Regions from separate parts of the Homo sapiens genome. Here region 1 is linked to region 2. Evidence: promoter capture Hi-C in human tissues and cell types (Jung and others, 2019). All regions are on one chromosome and are shown on one strand. Each heading gives the region's core, a stretch centred on a gene start or on the middle of the fragment in contact. The rest is flanking DNA. Distances are from core to core; before and after follow the strand shown. Region 1 overlaps EPS15 (epidermal growth factor receptor pathway substrate 15). Region 2 holds the start of EPS15 (epidermal growth factor receptor pathway substrate 15).

Region 1 (3,665 bases), core at 899-3,398, 130 kb before region 2:
GATACTCCTCGAGAAGAGCAACTCCAAGACACTTAATTATCAGATTCACCAAAGTTGAAATGAAGGAAAAAAGGTTAAGGGCAGCCAGAGAGAAAGGTCGGGTTACCCACAAAGGGAAGCCCATCAGACTAACAGCGGATCTCTTGGCAGAAACTCCACAAGCCAGAAGAGAGTGGGGGCCAATGTTCAACATTCTTAAAGAAAAGAATTTTCAACCCAGAATTTCATATCCAGCCAAACTAAGCTTCATAAGTGAAGGAGAAATAAAATACTTTACAGACAAGCAAATGCTGAGAGATTTTGTCACCACCAGACCTGCCCTAAAAGAGCTCCTGAAGGAAGCACTAAACATGGAAAGGAACAACCAGTACCAGCCACTGCAAAATCATGCCAAATTGTAAAGACCATCGAGACTAGGAAGAAACTGCATCAACTAATGAGCAAAATCACCAGCTAACATCATAACGACAGGATCAAATTCACACATAACAATATTAACTTTAAATGTAAATGGACTAAATGCTCCAATTAAAAGACACAGACTGGCAAGTTGGATAAAGAGTCAAGACCCATTAGTGTGCTGTATTCAGGAAACCCATCTCACGTGCAGAGACACACATAGGCTCAAAATAGAAGGATGGAGGAAGATCTACCAAGCAAATGGAAAACAAAAAAAGGCAGGGGTTGCAATCTTAGTCTCTGATAAAACAGACTTTAAACCAACAAAGATCAAAAGAGACAAAGAAGGCCATTACATAATGGTAAAGGGATCAATTCAACAAGAAGAGCTAACTATCCTAAGTATATATGCACCCAATACAGGAGCACCCAGATTCATAAAGCAAGTCCTTAGAGACCTACAAAGAGACTTAGACTCCCACACAATAATAATGGGAGACTTTAACACCCCACTGTTAACATTAGACAGATCAATGAGACAGAAAGTTAAAAAGGATATCCAGGAATTGAACTCAGCTCTGCACCAAGCAGACCTAATAGACATCTACAGAACTCTCCACCACAAATCAACAGAATATACATTATTTTCAGCACCACACCACACCTATTCCAAAATTGACCATGTAGTTGGAAGTAAAGCTCTCCTCAGCAAATGTAAAAGAACAGAAATTATAACAAACTGTCTCTCAGACCACAGTGCAATCAAACTAGAACTCAGGATTAAGAAACTCACTCAAAACCACTCAACTACATGGAAACTGAACAACCTGCTCCTGAATGACTACTGGGTACATAACGAAATGAAGGCAGAAATAAAGATCTTCTTTGAAACCAACGAGCACAAAGACACAACATACCAGAATCTCTGGGACACATTCAAAGCAGTGTGTAGAGGGAAATTTATAGCACTAAATGCCCACAAGACAAAGCAGGAAAGATCCAAAATTGACACCCTAACATCACAATTAAAAGAATTAGAAAAGCAAGAGCAAACACATTCAAAAGCTAGCAGAAGGCAAGAAATAACTAAAATCAGAGCAGAACTGAAGGAAACAGACAAAAAAGCCCTTCAAAATATTAATGAATCCAGGAGCTGGTTTTTTGAAAGGATCAACGAAATTGATAGACCGCTAGCAAGACTAATAAAGAAAAAAAGAGAGAAGAATCAAATAGACGCAATAAAAACTGATAAAGGGGATATCACCACCGATCCCACAGAAATACAAACTACCATCAGAGAATACTACAAACACCTCTATGCAAATAAACTAGAAAATCTAGAAGAAATGGATAAATTCCTCGACACATACACCCTCCCAAGACTAAACCAGGAAGAAGTTGACTCTCTGAATAGACCAATAACAGACTCTGAAATTGTGGCAATAATCAATAGCTTACCAACCAAAAAGAGTCCAGGACCAGATGGATTCACAGCCGAATTCTACCAGAGGTACAAGGAGGAACTGGTACCATTCCTTCTGAAACTATTCCAATCAACAGAAAAAGAGGGAATCCTCCCTAACTCATTTTATGAGGCCAGCATCATCCTGATACCAAAGCCAGGCAGAGATGCAACCAAAAAAGAGAATTTTAGACCAATATCCTTGATGAACATTGATGCAAAAATCCTCAATCAAATACTGGCAAACCGAATCCAGCAGCACATCAAAAAGCTTATCCACCATGATCAAGTGGGCTTCATCCCTGGGATGCAAGGCTGGTTCAATATATGCCAATCAATAAATGTAATCCAGCATATAAACAGAACCAAAGACAAAAACCACATGATTATCTCAATAGATGCAGAAAAGGCCTTTGACAAAATTCAACAACCCTTCATGCTAAAAATTCTCAATAAATTAGGTATTGATGGGACGTATCTCAAAATAATAAGAGCTATCTATGACAAACCCACAGCCAATATCATACTGAATGGGCAAAAACTGCAAGCATTCCCCTTGAAAACTGGCACAAGACAGGGATGCCCTCTCTCACCACTCCTATTCAACACAGTGTTGGAAGTTCTGGCCAGGGCCATTAGGCAGGAGAAGGAAATAAAGGGTATTCAATTAGGAAAAGAGGAAATCAAATTGTCCCTGTTTGCAGATGACATGATTATATATCTAGAAAACCCCACTGTCTCAGCCCAAAATCTCCTTAAGCTGATAAGCAACTTCAGCAAAGTCTCAGGATACAAAATCAATGTATAAAAATCACAAGCATTCTTATACACCAATAACAGACAGAGAGCCAAATCATGAGTGAACTCTCATTCACAATTGCTTCAAAGAGAATAAAATACCTAGGAATCCAACTTACAAGGGACATGAGGGACCTCTTCAAGGAGAACTACAAACCACTGCTCAATGAAATAAAAGAGGATACAAACAAATGGAAGAACATTCCATGTTCATGGGTAGGAAGAATCAATATCGTGAAAATGGCCATACTGCCCAAGGTAATTTATAGATTCAATGCCATCCCCATCAAGCTACCAATGACTTTCTTCACAGAATTGGAAAAAACTACTTTAAAATTCATATGGAACCAAAAAAGAGCCTGCATCGCCAAGTCAATCCTAAGCCAAAAGAACAAAGCTGGCAGCATCAAATACCTGACTTCAAACTATACTACAAGGCTACAGTAACCAAAACAGCATGGTACTGGTACCAAAACAGAGATATAGATCAATGGAACAGAACAGAGCCCTTAGAAATAACGCCGCATATCTACAACTATCTGATCTTTGACAAACCTGAGAAAAACAAGCAATGAGGAAAGGATTCCCTATTTAATAAATGGTGCTGGGAAAACTGGCTAGCCATATGTAGAAAGCTGAAACTGGATCCCTTCCTTACACCTTATACAAAAATTAATTCAAGATGGATTAAAGACTTAAACGTTAGACCTAAAACCATAAAAACCCTAGAAGAAAACCTAGGCATCACCATTCAGGACATAGGCATGGGCAAGGACTTCATGTCTAAAACACCAAAAGCAATGACAACAGAAGCCAAAATTGACAAATGGGATCTCATTAAACTAAAGAGCTTCTGCACAGCAAAAGAAACTACCATCAGAGTGAACAGGCAACCTACAAAATGGGAGAAAATTTTTGCAACCTACTCATCTGACAAAGGGCTAATATCCAGAATCTACAATGAACTCAAACAAATTTACAAGAAAAAAAAAACAACCCCATCAAA
Region 2 (4,058 bases), core at 858-3,357:
TTTCGTGTGCCTTCGTAATCCCTCTTATTGCCTCTTCATGTTTTAAAATCAGAATATTCTGAATTTACTTATTTGAATTATCAATAAAAATTAACCACCAATGTATATTATCTCATATGTGAGGCACTGAAGGATAATAGCTACTACTGATTCCGTACTTACTGTGTACACATTAATACCTAAATATATAACCCAAGAACATATGTAAATTTTTTAAATGGCTATAAAACTGACAGAGCTTGAAGCAATTCTCCAGAGATGAATGATGTAAATAGAAGCTAAAAACATGGTATTACCCAGGGAGAGAATAAAGTATGCACACAACTGAGAAGCAATTTTACGGAAGTCTTTAAGAGCACAAAATCTTCAAGGGAAAACTCCTGCCAGAATTGGCCAACAGAGCCAGAAAACAACAGCCTGCCAACAGGGATCTTGTTTAATGCAAGTCACTAACTAGACTCACAGAAAGTGAATACCTAAAAGTCAGTGCTGTAGTTGTTCAAATTTGAGTTTTGGGAGGACCCTTCCAAACATACATAACCAAGACTAAACCACCACATTCCATGTTAAAGGGTTCTCTGCTTGTCAGAACAGGACAACCACCACCACCATCAAAAAAACTGGGAAATAGACTTTCCTTATGACACTTAGAATTCCTGCAAACACGGGTTAGTTATTTTACATGAAGCATGTACGTGACTCCTGGTTTCTGAGAAAACATTTTTTTCTCTCTATCCTACAGTGCTAGGCAAAGCACCCCAAAGCCTCTTGATTTTAAACACAGAAAACTCCACTGCCGAAATGTTTGCCCTATCCCAGCGCTAAAGCCTTAGAAGCACCGACGAATCTAGGCCAAGGAGTACAAGATGGCAGTGAGATACCACAATGCAGGCAAGGAAGACGGGATGGGCCCCAATCGGGAAGCACGCGCCACCAGCTCTGGAGAGAACCGTCTGAGGAGACGCGGGGGAGAGTTTGGGTCACAGGAGCAGGAAGGAACTGGCAGGTGTCTGTCACCTTATCATCCCGGACACCATGTTTACATTGTAATTGGCTTCTTTACAGAGAGGGAGGGACCAGGTTCCCAGTGTGAGTGATGTTTAGAGGTTTTCTGAGAAGCACAAGGACTGGACTTTGACAGGAAGCAACGAGGCAAGAGGGAAGCTCGAGAACAGGTTTTGCTGAGGATTCCCCCCAAGAAAAGTGCTCCCCGGGAGGCCGTTCCTGGCACCAAGACTGGCGGAGCCACCACACCCGTTAAAGGGATCCACCTGGACAGCGATCAGGCGTGAGCCCCCCGAGGGGAAGTTGAAGTGGAAGCAGACGTGGGTGGCAAAAGGCTGCATTGGGGGTCTGACCCAGAAGGAAACCTGATCAGGAGGGGGGAGAGGCTGAACGGAGGAAGGGGCCGGCAGAGTGGGTAGTTGAGTAGGATGAGACTTCTTTGGAGGCGAGGCTAACTACATTAAACTCTGGGAAGGGAGGGCTTCCGTCGGACCCTGGGAGAAAGGCAGGTCTGGAGAGGAAAGACTGGCTTGGGGGGCCTGCGCGTCCGGCTCTGGAAGGCAACTCCTACTGGGGGCGGCGCGCAGCCGGCCTGGCGGGCGAGCCTCGTGCGGCCCGGGGGTGCGGCCGGCCCGCGCGAGCTCAACAGGAGCTCACCTGGGATGCGTGCGGCCCTGTGGGAGGAAACTTCCTGGGTAGGTGAAAGCTGCCCCGCGGGAGCCGGCCCGGCACCGGCAGAGCGCGGCCGGGTCACAGTCCACTCGGCAGCGGCGCGGAGGGCGGCGAGGGCCGCGCGGGGCGGGGCAGGAGGCGCCCGACGACCCTGGGCGAGGTCGCGGCGGCCGCAGGGGGGCTCCGGCTCCGGAGGGCGCCCTCCCGCAGTCGCACCCGCTTTCCCTCACACACACCGGCCGCCCGGCCCACAAGCCAAGAAGCTGCCTGCTTGGCCCACAAGCCAAGAAGTCGGCGAAGCTGAGGGCGGTGGGGGAGGGGGCACCGGCCGGCCAAGCCCGGCGGACGGGCGTGTGGCGTTACCTGTGTCAGAGAGAGCTGGGCCGCCGCAGCCATGGTGTTTCCATCATGCAAGGGAGGGGAAGGAAGACGGGCTGACTGGGGCTCGGGGCGGGGAGGAGGCGGAGGGAGCGGCCGCAGGCGAGGCCGGGGCGGGCGGGCGGGCGTCTCCCCTAACTTCCACAACTTCCCTCCCCACGCCCGCCCCGCCCCGCCTGGCCCCGCCCGCCTGCCCGCCCGCCGGAGCCGGCCGCGGCGCCGCCCAAACCCTGGCGCCGGAGTCTCGGCCACCGGACCAGAGCCTGCCCCCGGGGCCGCCTTGGAAAACCCGGCGCGGACATAAAATTAAAGCGGACGGGCTGCGGAGGCGACTGCAGATTGACCTGTGAACTTCAGACAGGCCACCTACCTACGCTGAGCTCCTGCTTCTGAAAAATGGGGGAAATTGTAACTAGAGGCCCAGTTACTTACAAAGACTAAATGAGATAATGATAGAAAATAATAATGGCACTTTATATATGCCAGGCTCTGTACTAGACTCTTATTTTTTGAATTGTATGAATGAAGGAACTGAAACACAAATAAGTGTCTTACTAAGGTCATACAGCTAATTATATAGCTGAATTAGAATCCAAGTCTAACTGTAAATATTTAACCATCTGCTAGTATATTGGAAAAGAAGACATTAAGTCATTCCCTCCCACAGCCAAAATCCATTTGGAAAGGGGAAGCAAAAATGTATTTGCCTGGTGCCTGTCACATTTAGATTGTTTAACAAGGGAACGCTGGTGCCTGTAGCACTCCTAGCTTCTCCCATCATCCACTTAGCAAACTCCTCCTTCTTTCTCAGGACATAATTCAAGTTTCACCTCCTTTGCAAAGTATCTTTTTCTCTTCCTTATGTCAGAGTTACACACTCTCCTTTATAACCTTTCTTCTCTACCTTGTGAAGTCATCACCCTAATGACAGTTTACACCTATCTATCCCTCTAGATTAAGAGCTCCTCAATGGCAAGAACTGTTTTCAATATATTTCTATATCGTCAGACCCTAGCATTACAGTGCATGCTCAGTAAAGGCCTTCGTTCCTGCCTATATTAAACATAACACATCCTACACCTTCTGATGCTGCCAACCTTCAGTTGGAATACCCAGTTACTTGAAATTCATCTTCAAAGTCTCAGAGTATATACCACCTACTTCAAGAAGCCTTCTAGGAACTCCACACCCCACCTCTAAGTTGTTCTGATGTGACCGTTTTTATACTCTGCCTTATCTGTAAGCGTTAGTTGAGGGTTTGTCTCCACCTCACTGCACTGTAAAATCCTTGAGGACAAGGGGCTGACTCACTGCTTTATCTCCCTCATAGTTTAGCCTACCACAGAGGCCTCAATAAATGTATTTGCCCGAATTGGTCTTAATTTCTTAGTCACGATGGCTTCCCATTACAACAAACCACAACTCTATCAGGCCTACACCCATTACCATTATCATAGCAGTCCCCGTGGTAGGAGGGACAACTGAACAAGACCCAGGATGGAGTTAGCCCCACCTAAGTTTTTAGACTATTGCCTCCACAAGCAAACCATTCCAGAAATTTCCCAAGGAACTCCTAATTCTACTCAGACTCCTTCTGGCAAAGGCCAGCTAACAAGAGCAAGCCATATAGGTCTGGTGAGTAACCACTTATTCAAGAGCATCTTCCTTGGCTTCTTTTTTGCTGCTAATCTCTTTAACTGAAGAGAGAATAAGAGATACTGTTTTACATTACTTCACTTTGGTACACTTATCAGCCATAACCACAACCGGTGTTTCTACCGGTGTTTTCTACTTTATATTAGCACATTTGAGCTTCACAACTCTAAAAGGAAGTAATCGTCATACTCACTTTACAAATGAGGTAATGCAGGGTCACAGAGGCTAAGTGATTTGCCCAGGGTTATACAACTGATAGACAAAGCAGCATAGTATAGTGAAATAAATAGGACTCAGACATTAGGAATATCCAGGTTCCATTCCTGGCTCTCCCATTCACTAGTTGT

What was found. The method cuts DNA at HindIII sites, captures the fragments that hold promoters and counts their contacts. A contact is called where the count stands out against the background at its distance.
Region 1: a fragment that was not itself captured here is called in contact with the fragment with the promoter of EPS15 in region 2 in 1 of the 25 tissues and cell types used here (spleen).

The regions. Positions count from the first base shown.
Region 1 is chr1:51,386,978-51,390,642 of GRCh38, forward strand. The region is part of intron 21 of EPS15 (epidermal growth factor receptor pathway substrate 15); the gene reads right to left. Among named protein-coding and RNA genes, the nearest start is that of TTC39A, 58 kb to the left of the region's middle. The HindIII fragment of the contact is 4,626 bases long and covers 1-3,665 here.
Region 2 is chr1:51,517,159-51,521,216 of GRCh38, forward strand. EPS15 (epidermal growth factor receptor pathway substrate 15) reads right to left here and starts at 2,108. Exons shown (of 25, transcript NM_001981.3): 1 at 2,041-2,108. The coding sequence starts at 2,073. It overlaps EPS15-AS1 (EPS15 antisense RNA 1), which reads left to right and starts at 1,114. Exons shown (of 5, transcript NR_183651.1): 1 at 1,114-1,288. It also overlaps a transcript of OSBPL9 not described here. RefSeq lists an enhancer at 1,363-2,291 and silencers at 1,522-1,991, 2,142-2,331. The HindIII fragment of the contact is 17,142 bases long and covers 1-4,058 here.